Regions from separate parts of the Homo sapiens genome. Here region 1 is linked to region 2. The links are contacts of gene promoters, found by promoter capture Hi-C in human tissues and cell types (Jung and others, 2019). All regions are on one chromosome and are shown on one strand. Each heading gives the region's core, a stretch centred on a gene start or on the middle of the fragment in contact. The rest is flanking DNA. Distances are from core to core; before and after follow the strand shown. Region 1 overlaps KMO (kynurenine 3-monooxygenase). Region 2 holds the start of EXO1 (exonuclease 1).

Region 1 (7,485 bases), core at 738-3,237, 260 kb after region 2:
TGACATGTAGTGTATAAGTAGGTAGGTACTGCTGATGGCTATCAGTGATCCCAAGAAAAAGAGTCCTTTGTTTATCACCTGTAAGACAGCAAGAACTCTCATTTCATTTGTCCAGAGATTAAAATCTGAAAATAGACTTCATTTTTTAACAACAAAGGGGTAAACAATGTCCTCTTTGTTCTTTAACCTGAAACAACAATTTACTTGCATGACCACCAGATCAGGAACTGATAAGATCAAGATAAAGTCAAGGATTGGGAGCCTCCCTTCTCCCTCTCTCCCAGGAAACTCATGAATCCAGGTCTTCTGTATGAAAAAAATTTAGCAGTCAGCTTTTGTCCAGCCATTAAAAAACCTTTGCAGTTTAGAAAAAGAGCTGTGAATTCTTAGAAGAGTACTGCTGTGCTGGGGCCACACATCATTCATTCCTTCTCAGAAGCTTCCCAAAAGTCTCCAGGAGAAGAGTGGTGGCCTGGTGGCCTCTGTGACTAAGACTTATGTGGAGACTAAACACCAGCTGTAAACAGTGGCCTGAGGCTCATTCCAGCCTGAGTCAGGTGCTTTCCCATGGCATCCTGGCCTATTTCTTTTCTTTTTTTTTTTTTGACAGAGAAATCTACTTGAATACTCACATGTAAAAGTTACACATCACAAGAGATTGGACAGTAGCTTAGCATAACTAACATAGCTATAGTGAAAATCATTTTTATAAAAAATAATCTAGATGTGGTCATCAGAATTTTTGGTCTGCTTAAGTTAATGTTTGAAGATTGACTTTTATCCCTCCTTGAAGGATTTGCCTGGCCTATTTCTATCCCCGCACTTACTGTCCTGCATTCTAACTGCCTGCTGGTATCTTTTCCCCTTTTAGACTTTCAGCTCCTTAAGGGTGGGGGCCCTGTTTTATTCATCTTGCACAGATAAACCTTGATTTCTTCCAATCCATTCTCCATATAGACATCTTTCTAAAATCCATACCTGAGTCTGCTGGCCTCCCTGGGCTCCCTGTTTCTCTCAAGATAATACTCCAGGTGTTTAAAGCCCCGCCTCCACCCTCTGACCATTCTCACACACTGTGCTGCCTTCCAGCTCCACTGAAATATGTTTCTCATGTGTCTTCCGCCTTCCCCTGTCCTGGCCCCTCCTGTTCTCCTCGGGGGCAGTTTATCTCTCTCCAGTGCCACTGTCTGTATCCCCTACTAGCCTCTGAGCTTTGTGAAAGGTGTGAACTGGTCATGTTCATCACCATGCCAGCTCAGTGCTATCTATGTACCAAATAAAACTGTCTGTTGAATAAATGACGTTGTAAAATCCCCAAAGTGGAAGACTAGGGAATCAGAATTCCTTCCATTTAATGGCTTCTCTAGGCCAACTGCCCAAAATGGATGTATTATAGCATTCCATTGGAATAGATCTTTTAAAAGTGATTCAGTTCTGTCTAATTTTACAAATTAAACTCATAAGAATATTGCATGAAGCAAAAATCAAGAACAGTACATCTTGCTAAAATAAAGTAAAAAGTTGAGAAATATTAGCATCAGTTTCTATCTTGAGATTCTTCCCTTCAAAAGCTCTCTTTGCCACCTCCTTGTAATGTTTTTCAGTAAGCACTGTTCCCTCTCTGTACTCAGGACAGTTTCTGTTTGGAAGGCAAACAGTTGGTGTCTGTCCCATTATTTCTGTATTTGTTGGAAACAAACATAATCATAATACTATGACATTTCAAAACACCACATTAAAAAATAAATAAAATGTAACTGTTCCAACCTTTTTTTGCCAATGCCAACGCTGCACAGCCTCATGGTATCTTATTCTGGAAAAAGTGACCTGCAGGGAAGTTTAAAAAGTATTCTTGTGTATTCTTTAACAGCTAAACAGAAAATCAAAATGAGGAAAAGTCTTCAGTCCAGACCTTACCATTGTATAGAGAGGGATAAAGGTCGATGGCATAATCGCATGAAGAAATCTCTCCATGTTCTTCTGAAAAATGAACCAGCTTGAGTTGACATGTGCTCGCATCTGCAATAATGACAGTCTTAAAGAACGCTTTTGAACAAATACAGCTATTTCTCACTGCGACTTAGTATTATTCTTCATTCCCACTCATCGCAATGCCAAACACAAAGTAGTCAAATAATTTTTTGTTTCCATAATGTCATTCCCAATCCATTTTGGTAAATGTCGGTCATATAGGACGTTGCCTCGAAAATGTACAGCAATTACACGAAACCTGCTAGGGAAGTTTATTTTGCTCAGGGTTCAATAGAGGAAGTCAATTTCAGCAGAGGGTTTGTTTAACCAGAACTGCAGGCAATCTGTGAGCTCAAAGATTTGTCTAATTTTCTGTTGCTTCCTGGTTGTTTTGTAATATTGCTTACGGCAAAAAGAGATTGTTTAAAGCTATGTTTGTCTGGACCTACTCTTTCTTTTAGGACAGATACTGTGTCGTAGCCATCCCGTTTTTAAAGGAGAAGACAAGATACATCAATAAAGCCTACAATATCTTGTAGGTTATCCTCTACCACATCTGATGCAATTTTGCTCAAGCTGAAGTCCAGTTTCTTTCTGTCTTCAGGAGAGATGGCAAATAGCTGGTCACTCTGCTTTAAATTTATCTTGTAAATCCTTTCATTTTATTATTTTAAAACTATAATCACAATCACTTACCATGAGCTTTACATGTGACTGGTTCAAAATGGAATTAATATGTTTTTTTTTCAAAGTACTAATCTTCCTGAACATGAATTTCTTTTTGGTATTATGCATTTTTTTTTAGTGCATAAGTTTCCAAAGGATAATCAATGCTACTCTAAATATGCAAGTTATAATGTTATGAGTGAAAAGGCCATTCAACATTTCTTAGATTTTCTAAATATGTTGACACATCTGAAAGTTGTATTTTCATTAAAGTAACATATTGCTAAATGTCTAAGATAAAAGCATGTGAATTATCAGAGGTTTTGTTACCTCCTAAACGTCCTTAAAGTGTAGATAGAGATAATGTGTATTGGTCATTGCCACTGGCCAGAGTCACAATCCACCCAAGTCTAAGGAATGCTATGTGTGTGTGTGTTTTCTTATCTGTAGGTATTCTTATATAGCATGCATGAGATGGGGGCTGAAGCAAAGAAAAAGAAAAGAACACTTGTTAGAATATCAGTGAACCATCTCATGGAATAAAGCCAAACCTTCTCACTCACCTCTATGTAATTGTACATGGATAGGTCTGAAATCGCGTGATCATCTGGGATTCTCAATCTTGAGAACACAGGAAGACACAAACCTGTAAGTTAAATAATACATCTTTCCAAAACCTTCTATAAAAATGTGCTGAACTCTACACAGGTCAAATTAAATGGTACGTTCACTACCAATGCTCTCGCTAATTTTTTTAAACTATAAATAACCATTCTGTATAACCAACAATCTATGACTATTGACAATACACAGAGCATTTCCTGTTGTGATTAAATAAAAATTACAACAAAATTAATCTATATTATTGCTTTATCTTTGTTCTCTAGTGCCCCAAACCAGCGTTGACAGTGTGTTCTTATGCATAAACCCTCTATCAACCTCCAACGTCATGTGTAAACCAGTCACGCGAGCACAAGGAAAGGAGGAAACAAAATATCTCTGGCTCCTGAGCATCTGAGAGAGATGACTGGGAAATAACCAAAAAAAAAAAAAAAAAAAAAAAAGAAAAAAAAGATGAGAAAATTTGTCCTGGAATTCTATGATCTCTTCAGACCCAGGCACCAGTATTCTTGGACTTTCTAAAACACCACAGCAAACATATACTATGAACTTACTTTACGGTAGGCTTTTTTTTTCTTTTTAAAACTTTATAGAAATTATTCAGTGTTCACAACTCTGAAGTTGAGAGTATCATCCCCACTTTATAGATGAAAAAGAACGGAGGCTTTAGAAAGATGAAGTGATTTGCTCAAGATCACACAGTTAATAAGTTGGCAAGTCAGGACTTGAAACTGGGTGTAAGTTTAAGGCCAGTTCTCTAGTCTATCCTTTACCTGAAACAAGTGTAAAATCAGAGGTGGCCTTTGAAAGCACGTGATGCTGGGAAGTAGGAAAAGGTTATCCAGTTCTTAGGCTGTTGTTTGTGCCTTCTTTTATATATGTAATATACAAACCCTCCATCCACCTCCATGGTCATGTGCAAACCAATCACATCAGGACTAGGAAGGAAGGGCGGGAACAAAATGCCTCTGGCTCCTCAGTATTTGACAGAGATAACTGAAAAATAATGAAAAAAAAAAAAGGAATTTATGCCGGGCATGGTGGCTCACGCCTATAATCCCAGCACTTTGGGAGGCAGAGGTGGGTGGATCACTTGAGGTCAGGAGTTCGAGACCAGCCTGGCCAACATGACGAAACCCCGTCTCTACTAAAAATACAAAAATTAGCTGGGTGTGGTGGTGTATGCCTGTAATCCCAGCTACTCTGGAGGCTGAGGCAGGAGAGGAGGCGGAGGTTGCAGTGAGCCAAGACTGAGGCCACTGAACTTCAGCCTGGGCGATGGAGTGACTCCATCTCAAAAAAAAAAGTATTAGATGCAATCTTTGATAGGGCAAAAAACACTGGAGCTTCTAAGTGTTTCTGAGGATGTGTTGTAGGGTGACTGTCCCCAACCCTCGGTCCATGGCCTGTTAGGAACTGGGCCGCACAGCAGGATGTGAGTGGCAGTTGAGATGGCATTACCGCCCAAGCTCCGCCTCCTGTCAGATCAGCAGTGGCATTAGTTTCTCATAGGAGCGTGAACCCTATTGTGAACTGCACAGGCGAGACATCTAGCTTGCACGCTCCTTATGAGAATCCAACTAACGCCTGAAGATCAGAGCAGGAACAGTTTCATCCTGAAACCATCTCCCCCCACCCCCTGTCTGTGGAAACACTGTCTTCCGTGAAACCCGTCCCTGGTGCCAAAACGTTGGGACTGTTGCTAGGAGGCGCAGGCAGAGGGTGTTACCTAGGCTGAAAAGGGAGAGAAAGCAGCCTATTTCTGCCAAGCACGGGTACTCTGAGCTTTAATCTCTGAGTGAATCACTTCATGGACCTCCACATAGAAACTTCAAAAGAAACTATGTTTCTTTTTCTGGGTGTTAGTTGTTGCTATGGGAAAACGGTGGCATAGACTATTAGTAGAAAAATATGTAATCCTGGGGAGATAATATACATTATACATCACAGGTTTGTGATCATTGAGGATCAGAAATAAGCCCACAATTAGTCAGAAGAGCTAGTACATGTCCAGTTGAGAAATTGACCTTACTTACTAAGGTCGTTACTGAATTTATCCATTAACTCATCAAATACCAAGCAGTCTTCAAAGCCCTGAAACAAGAAAAAAAAAGAGAAATAAGAAACTAGAAATAATAAAAAAGAAACCCTTATTATTGATTTTGAATAGATATTCCATTGGTGAAGATAATTCATACACTGTTTATTCTCAACTAGTACATAGCAGTTGAGTTGTCACATGGTATTGAATTATGGTTAAAAATGACCATCGGGCCTGGACGTGATGGCTCACACCTGTAATCCCAGCACTTTGGGAGGCCGAGGTGAGCGGATCGCTTGAGCTCAGGAGTTTGAGATCAGCCTGGGCAACATGATGAGACCCCATATCTACTAAAAATACAAAATAATAGCTGGATGTGGTGGTGTGTGCCTGTGGTCCCAGCTACTCGGGAGGCTGAGGTGAGAGGACCACTTGAACCTGGGAGATGGAGGTTGCAGTGAGCCGAGATCGCTCCACTGCACTCCAGCCTGGGTGACAGAGCGAGACCCTGTCTCAAAAAAAAAAAAAAAAAAAAAAAAAGACCATAGACTTCATGCTTGGCAGTGTTATCTTTGTCCAATTTACATATATATGATACAGTGATCTGAAATTCGACCAAGATTTTACATTACTGTTTTAATTTTGATAGATTCCATTACTTCTTTGAGAAGAAGAAATCATTATATTGCTCTACCATAAGTTTTAGAATTATATTTAAACTCATTCAAGTCTTTAAGATTCATATTTAGAGCAATTTAATGATAGGATAAAACTACTTATTAATTTAGTTCCTATAACTCAAGATTAAAGCAATATTAAGAAGTCCACAAAATTAGTAATGTACTATACTAAATACAGAGAGGATGGAGAATTGAAAACAATGTTTCCTGTTTCCTAGGAATTCAAGCTACAGCTTTAGAGGTAGTATAAAGATTTTTTTTCTTTTTGGTTTTTTTTTTTGTTCTTTTTTTTTTATTTTAGATGGAGTCTTGCTCTGTTGTTCAGGTTGGAGTGCAGCACAATCTCGGCTCACTTCAATCTCCACCTGTTAGGTTCAAATGATTCTCCTTCCTCAGCCTCCCAAGTAGCCAGGATTACAGGCGTGCACCACCACGCCCAGCTAATTTTTGTATTTTTATAGAGATGGCATTTCACCACATTGGCCAGACTGGTCTCAAACTCTTGACCTCAAGTGATCTGCCTGGCTTGGCCTCCCAAAGTGCTGGGATTACAAGCGTGAGCCACTGTGCCCGGCCTTAAGATATTTTTTAAATAAAATATTTTTCACATCAATTATAAAGATTACATCTGAAACAAGCAGATTTATTTGTCAAATCAATTATATAGTCTCAATACTATAGAAGTGAGAGATACCATATGGGGCTGAGATAATAGTTTTATATTCTTTTGTTTAAGTTAATTCATTTACTCTTCACAACTCTCTGAGGTAGACATTATTAAAATTCCAATTTAATTTAATTTAATTATTAATTAATTAATTTTGAAATGCAGTCTCGGTCTGTCACCCAGGCAGGAGTGCAGTGGCACAATCTCGGCTCACTGCAACCTCCACCTGCCAGGTTCAAGCGATTCTCCTGCCTTAGCCTCCCAAGTAGTTGGGACTACAGGAACCCACCACCACACCTAGCTAATTTTTTTTGTATTTTCAGTAGAGACGGGGTTTCACCATGTTGACCAGGCTGGCCTCAACCTCCTGACCTCAAGTGATCCACCTGTCTCGGTCTCCCAAAGTGCTGGGATTACAGGCGTGAGCCACCACACCTGGCCTAAAATTCCAGTTTTATGGATAAGAAAGTAAAGATAAGGTAAGTAAATTGCACAAGAATATATTTGCAGTAAATTCTGGAGCCAGGATTTAAAACTAAGTATTCTAATGTCAGGTCCTGGGCACTTATCCACTGTGCTACAGTTAATGTCTTATGTTTTTATAAAACAATATGTTTACCACTGCTTCATGGAGAATATAATTGATTAGATTCAAAAGCTATTTTTACTTGGAATATATGCCAATGACCAAAATAATATATGATTAATGATTATGAAGCTATTAGTGCACACACACACACAAATTAGGATTCCTTGAAATGAATGTTCAACTTTTAAACGCTATTTCTTTTCTGAATTCTTTTTCTGGCCAAAATAGTAACATTTCCATGAAGGCAGTA
Region 2 (7,447 bases), core at 2,809-5,308:
TCACCTTTCTTAAGGTAATACTTCTGCTCTATTTTAGGCCAGATGAGAAAACTATGGAAAGAGAAGGTTTTTTATTTTGTTATTTTAAGCAGATGTTTTCATAGGAATTGGAACTCTAACTTACTAGACTTGGATTCAAATCCTGCCTTGGATACTTACGAGCCATGTGATGTCTGGTGAACTACTTGACCCTCCAAGCCTTGGTTTCCTTATCTGTGAATTAAAGAGCTTTGATATCCCTTCTAATTCTGACATCTTTGGTTTCAAATCTGGTCTTTCCCCCCCATTTTATGTTAAAAAATTTCAAATCTATTGAAAAGTTGAAAGAATAGTACAATAAACACTGGATTCTTCCAACGACACCATATCACAGCTAAGTAATTTAATAGTAACATAATATTATCTAATACTCAGTTTATATTATAATTGGTACACTTGTCTCAACAATGTTTCTTATATTCAGTGGTGTCCTGGTAAATGTTTAACAACCAGTTCTGCGGGAAGAGGTGCCTGATTTCCCTGAGATAAATATTTCTCAATGGCAGATGAGCTACCTACTTGAACTCAAATGAATGCTGAGCTGAGAAGACATGGTGTATAAAGAGCTCATATGAATTGGCTCCAGGACACCACTGCTACTATTTTTTCCAAATCCAGGATCCAATCAAGGGTCAGGTATTACATTAGGTATTGTGACAAAAACAACTGCATTTACAACTTCTATCATTTTATAAAGAAAAGGACATTTTAGCTCAAAAACAGGAATGGGAAAACAATCTTTAATCTTTTTGCATAACGCAAACTTAGCAGCTAAAATAAAGAAAAAAAAGATGACCTTTTAAATATGTCATCTTGATGAAAGACTCACTACATTGTTATCCTTATTTTTTCTATGTGTTGTAGATCAGTGACAGTGAACTTGCATTGGTATGGAACAATGATTGGGACCTGCTGATCATAAAGCAAAATTCAGGAGAAAGCAAATATGAAATTATAATGAATTTTACAACACATTTGTTTTTTTGCTAACCAGGATTAGCAGTATGTTTTCTGTACCCAAGAATGTGGGAGTCAGAAATCATCACGGATTTTCAAAGCATTTGTTAAAAAATTTATCTTAGGTTAAGAATTGGGCCAGGCATGGTGGCTCACGCCTGTAATCTCAGCACTTTGGGAGGCCAAAGCAGGCGGATCACTTGAGGAGTTTGAGACCTGCCTGGCCAACATGGTGAAACCCTGTCTCTAATAAATATACAAAAATTAGCCGGGTATGGTGGTGTGCACCTGTAATCCCAGCTACTTGGGAGGCTGAGACAGGAGAATTGCTTGAACCTGGGAGGCGGAGGTTGCAGTGAGCCAAGATTGTGCCACTGCACTCCAGCCTGAGCTAGAGATTCCATCTAAAAAAAAAAAAAAAAAAAAAAAGAATAAAGGAGATATTAATAGTCTTTGTCCATCAGTGTCTTGATACTCTGGCTTATTATAAAGAAAGAAAACTAGGCCTATTATCACAGAAGGAAGTCATCCCTGATTTGGGAATATTCTAAAACATACAACTTTTACTTCCTGATAAGTTCTGGCATTGAGTGAAAACAATCCGTTTCTGGGGGAGAAAAAAAGGCACTGTAGGTCTCATTCTTAATTGTCAAAGAATTAACATAAGGTCCAGACTTACCTATCAGTAGGTTCACCTTTGGCTAGTTTTTCAGCACAAGCAATAGCTCCTTTGTGAAGCCAGCAATATGTATCCACAGCTACTACCTGCCCTTTATACTTCCTCACATGGATGGGTTCTGAAGCTTCTTTGATAAATTGTAGCAATCCCTGTATCCCCATGGTGCCAAATTAACTACCTGATATGAAAAGAGACAGGGAGAACAGTAATATTTAAAGAAAAATACATTTATTAAAACATCTTAGACAAATGAAGAGAAAGCTTGGAGTCCAATGCAGAAATTGGTTTGTTGTTTTTTTTTTTTTTTGAGACGGAGTCTCGCTCTTTCGCCCAGGAGGGACTGCAGTGGCCTATATCGGCTCACTGCAAGCTCCGCCTCCCGGGTTCACGCCATTCTCCTGCCTCAGCCTTCCCAGTAGCTGGGACTACAGGCGCCCGCCACCGCGCCCGGCTAATTTTTTGTATTTTTAGTAGAGACGGGGTTTCACCATGTTAGCCAGGATGGTCTCGATCTCCTGAACTCGTGATCCGCCCGCCTCGGCCTCCCAAAGTGCTGGGATTACAGGCGTGAGCCACCGCGCCCGGCCAGAAATTGTTCAGATATTCAAGAATCACTGCTCTTTAATATTTTAGCTGGGCTCCTCCCTATCAAACAATTTCCATAGGGTAGAATTTACATTAATCACTAATACTACCTCTAATGCCACTTGACTGTTGCTTATTGTTTGTTTAGTCTTTCCAAAGTGCTTTTGCACTTTCACTCCTGACACATGCTTCAAGGAGCCAGGCACAAACAAAACCATGCATGCGATGGCATCGCATTGCCTCTACAAAGGGCATTAATCATAAGGGTCAACGTGCAAATTCAAATAGGAGTAGAAACTCAAAACAGTTTGTAGGAAGGTAAGTATTTCAATTAAAAAACAAAGGAAAAATTCAAAAAGAATTACAGAAATGATCCTGTACTTTTTTAGGACTGAAATTCACTGCTATTAGAACGCATTATTCTAAGCACGAACATTCTGGTAATAAACAGTGGTGGCGCCCAGGGGCAACTCCATCAGCCTCTCTGAAAGCTACCCTAAAGAACTGTGAAACTGCGTCTGCTATGCAAATACAGCTTCAAGACAAATGCTTTAACTTTCCACCCCCTTCCATTCCGGTTGCAGCCCCCTAAGCCCTTTCTATACAGAGATTCTGGAACTGTCACAACCCTTTCTGATGAAACGACCTCCCCCCACTCTACAATAAAAAGTCAGTAATGGGCACTGAGCAGTTGCTTAGCATTTCATAATACAAATCTCTCCTATCAAACGTTAAGTTTGGAAGGAAAGGAAGAAAGAAAGTACAGGATCAGGAGGCAGCTTTACCCTGTTGACACCTTATCAGAGCTCTAAAGGCTCTGGTCCAGCAGTTCTCAAATTTCAGAGGTTCTTAGACTCTCAACTCCACTCAGTGACTGGGATTCACTAGTTCTGCTGTGAATGAATTTTAAACAAAGCAGTTAATCTGGATGCAGGTGGTCCTCAAGCCACAGTTTCAGAAAAACAGTCTCTTACCTCTCAGATGATATCTAAAAAGAGTTTTCTCTCACTCCGAGGAAAACGGATATAATAGTTCATGAAATTTACATAAGTTTCTTCTGGGCCAGGCAAATATCCTCGAATAATTATTTCTTCTTTAGCGTAGTAAGAATGGCTGAGTGCGATAGTAAGAATGACTGTGTACATATCTCAGAGGTCGCATGTGGCACTCGAGGTAACAATAACAGCACCATCTTCACTTTATCCCTCTGTCTCGCGGAGATGTGCAGGCGTGGCCCCCAAGCCCATTCCAGACGACACGTTTCCTTAGGCCTGCAAAATATTATGGGAAAATGTACTTGTCAACATTTAAAGGTGGAGAGATTGCATGTAAAACCTGGACTGCCAGCTTCTGCGGAAAAATGAGGTAAGTCTGGCAACCCTGGCGCCTGCTCCAGCCCGGAATCGTCTGCTCTCTTATCTCCCTCCGTTCACTGAACTGCAGACCTCTGGTTGCCAGACGTCCCCTCGGAACAAAACACATACTCCACTCAGGCTAAGGGCTCCGCTGTTGGGTTGGGAAGATCACGCCAGACCCTCTCCTTCCCTTCCTGGAAGACCCGAATCCCGAGAGGAGGGTCGGAGGTGACGCGCAGGTCGACCCCCAAGGGAACCCACCCATTAGCCTCCGCACAGCCCGCTCCTCTCACCTTCCGAGAAGGGACTCTCCTCCTCCCCTTGAGCGGAGCCGATTGCGGTTGGAGAAACCCGCTCCGACGCCCCTAACTCACTGTGGCCAGAGCACCCACGGCCGGCAACGCAGAACACGGGTAACTTGCCTACACAGCGCGCGAAAGGCTGACCTTTCAATTTGCGCGGGTTCCTTGCGGCCCCGCCCAGAGGATGTGACGTCAACGCGTATCCCGCAACCCGGTTCCGCCTCCTGCGGCTTCCAACTCATAGGGTTGCGTCCTGAGCTCTCCGTCTCGCTGGGTAGACAGCGGCTCACTGCCATACGACTGCAGCCGCTGCTGCCGGCCCGAACTCCGTGCGGCTTCTTGAGGGCGCGAGTGGCACTGGCGCTGATGGCCGATGGTGAGCACCGCCTCGGAAGTTGGGAGTGTTTACACCCGCCGGGGCTGCTGGGCGTTGTAGTTCCCTCCTGGCTGCAGCCCCAGTTCTGGAGGCTGATGTTGAAAGAGCGCCGTCGCGCGTTGATGTTGAGGCTTTTCAAACCTGAAAAAGTTGCTCAGTCCCCCTCGGCGTCATCAGTCCCATCCTAATTCCTTCATTCTCTTTAAAACGCCCGGTTGCCTCTACAAATCGAAATTGAATTCAGTTCACGCTGGGTTCTTTTCCCCATTGCAGTAGTAGTAGTGATTAAAATCTGCCCCTACCATTTTACCTAGAACCCAGCTTCGTTTATTTTTGACATAAGTCGGGGAAAAATTAGCTATATAACAAGACCTTGAAAATGGGCCTTAGAGACAAAGACTTTAGAGGCATTTTGGACTTTCATGGTCACTTGTGGCTAGGTTTCCAATCCTCATAACACCCCAGACCTCGTCGCTGTCCTCTTAGGGATATTGTAATTTAAAAAATTGGAAGAAACCTTAGGCCAGACCACAAAGTAATGTTCTGGGCTCAAAGATCAATAGGAATGATAATGCAGACTCAATTCAAGGAATTGAAGGGGAAGAAGTGAGCACATTGTTAAACATGCTCCCCATTTGATTACGTTCTTTACATCTTTTCCTCTTTTAAAGTCTTTTTATGATCACTCTAACATCTATCATGCCAATTTTAAAGGCATCTATGATGCCTTAAATTTGTTACTAAAATTGTTGAAAAGGTGCCACATTTGGGGAATGTGTTTGGAAAAGCTGTGTTGCTTTCTCCCTGGTTCTGGTCTTTAGAGCTGGGACTAGGAGAGATGAGAAAAGTTATCTTCCCTCCCTCTTCCAAAGGCTATGGTAGACCTAACCCTAAACTAGCTTGGAGTGGACTCTTGGAGAAAGTGGGGGACAATTTCAAACTGCAGTAGATTAAAGAGGAACTTCGATGTGGGCAGCATGTGTTTGTAGAGAAGCCTTCTTACACTCATTGGACTATCCAGCTGTAGTAACTGCTTCAGTACCTAGAATCCAACCATGAATATATCACACATGGGGGTCTTAGGAAGGAACCCCAAAATCAAAAAGGTGTCCATTCCAGTGTCACTGGATCTGTCATAAAACTAACATGAGAGTTTGCTGCACTGTGAACGGCTCATGTATTTACTGTGAATTTGACTCCCAAGGTTTCAAACTGTATTCTTGGCTGCAGTGTTCAAAGACTAAAATTGGAAAAGAAAACACTAGTTACAATACATTTCACTAACAGAATATTTTTACTCTTTGGGAGGACAAAACCATTTGCATCAATGTGTGCAGTAATTTACTACTGCCTTAAGTGTGCCTGTCAGTTCCAGGTGGCATGGAGGCATAAAGAGATGTCCTGTGTCTTCAAGGAACTTAAGATCTAGTTCTGTAGACAAAACACATGTTTATGAGACAGTTAAGTCACAAATCATGATGGCATGTTATTAAATGCTGAAATAAATGGTATATCCCATATGTTTCCAGCTTAAGACTCAGTTCCAATGTTACCAGTTTCCAAATGTCTTCCCTAAGTTAGATATTTGTTTGATATGCACAAGCATTCTGTGATGGCTCTTTGGTCCTGACACTTCTCATATTCTCATTGTGTTTGAATTGTCTTTGCCCTTCAATAGACTGAAAACCTTTTGAGGTAGGGTTGCCAGATTTAGCAAATAATAACGTAGGACACCCAGAAATTTGAATTTCAGATGAACAACAGATAAATTTTTAATATATCTAATGCAATATTTGAGACATATACTAAAAGAAATCCCTGTTTATCTGAAATTTAAATTTATCTTGGCATTCTGTAATTTTATCTGGCAACCTTACTTTGAGGGCAGGGATTATGTCTATGAATTTTCACATCCCAGTAGCACTAGTGTTGATTTTAAACATTTCAAATGTGTGGACTAATACATGAATGTCCTAGGTATGGCACTATTATTATGGGTTTTCTGGGCTGCTCTTATCTTTATTTTTTTATTTTTTATTTTTATTTTTATTTTTTTTTAAGACAGAGTTTCGCTCCTGTTGCCCAGGCTGGAGTGCAATGGTGCGATCTCGGCTCACTGCAACCTCTGCCTCCTGGGTTCAAGCGATTCTCCTGCCTCAGCCTCCCAAGTAGCTGGGATTACAGGCATGCGCCACCACGCCTGGCTAATTTTGTATTTTAAGTAGAGACGGGGTTTCTCCATGTTGGTCAGGCTGGTCTCGAACTCCCAACCTCAGGTGATCCGCCCGCCTCAGCCTCCCAGAGTGCTGGGATTACAGGCGTGAGCCACCGTGCCCGGCCAGCTCTTATCTTTAAATACTGTATCTTGTTGAAATATCAGGTTGCCTGATTTTTAATTTGGAAGATACTGTCTCCATTGTTATAGGGCAGTGTTTTCTACAGTGTGGAACTTAGCCAATGACTTGGGGCCTAGTGAGAGTTGTGGGTGCCCTCTAGATGGCCTCCTGCCTTTGCCTGGTTTCAGGCAGGGTTGCTAGAACCACAGCTGAGCAGCACCTTCCCCACCACACACACACATGCACACACACACACACACACACACACACACACACACTGATGCATACACCAGTAATTTCTAAGAAGAGACATAGGAGTGGGGGTTCTTTTTAGTCAGCAGCATTAGGAAGCTTTTTCTAAAGCTCAACTTCCCTCCAAATCAGAGACATGGGAACAAGGGACAACCTCAAGTGTTGGGCAAGTCAGCATCGTCTTGTCACCTCATATGGGACTAGGTTTTTATTTTGCTCCTCTGTTAAAATGAATGTGGATAGGTGTTCAAAACAGTATGTATGCAGTGTAAAGGTGAAGATGAAGGAATTGTGCACAGTGCTGGTGACTATTACATATATATGGAACAGAATATCCTTTTTCTTCTGACTGATCATCAACGGCTCTGGTTTTCTGTTTAAGTAACTTATTTTTAGGCGCTCATTTTTGCAGCTCAATTTGATTGATTTTGATTGCATTCAATTATTTTTACATTTTTAAATTATTTTAATCGAATGACTTTGTGTCCATTGTATTTTTACGGTTATTTCTATTATGGCAAGTGACACAGTGTTAACATGAAACTTGCTTTTTAAGTAAATTTAAG

Evidence for each region. Contacts are between HindIII fragments. The study calls those that stand out against the background at their distance.
Region 1: a fragment that was not itself captured here is called in contact with the fragment with the promoter of EXO1 in region 2 in 2 of the 25 tissues and cell types used here (adrenal gland and mesendoderm cells).

The regions. Positions count from the first base shown.
Region 1 is chr1:241,584,546-241,592,030 of GRCh38, reverse strand. KMO (kynurenine 3-monooxygenase) reads right to left here. Exons shown (of 15, transcript NM_003679.5): 11 at 5,295-5,352; 12 at 3,201-3,283; 13 at 1,918-2,019; 14 at 1,768-1,827; 15 at 1-78. Among named protein-coding and RNA genes, the nearest start is that of CHML, 52 kb to the left of the region's middle. The HindIII fragment of the contact is 6,440 bases long and covers 1-5,207 here.
Region 2 is chr1:241,844,815-241,852,261 of GRCh38, reverse strand. It overlaps EXO1 (exonuclease 1), which reads right to left and starts at 4,058. Exons shown (of 16, transcript NM_130398.4): 1 at 3,909-4,058; 2 at 3,235-3,531; 3 at 3,046-3,150; 4 at 1,676-1,853. The coding sequence starts at 1,836. RefSeq lists an enhancer at 4,023-4,362. The HindIII fragment of the contact is 7,563 bases long and covers 394-7,447 here.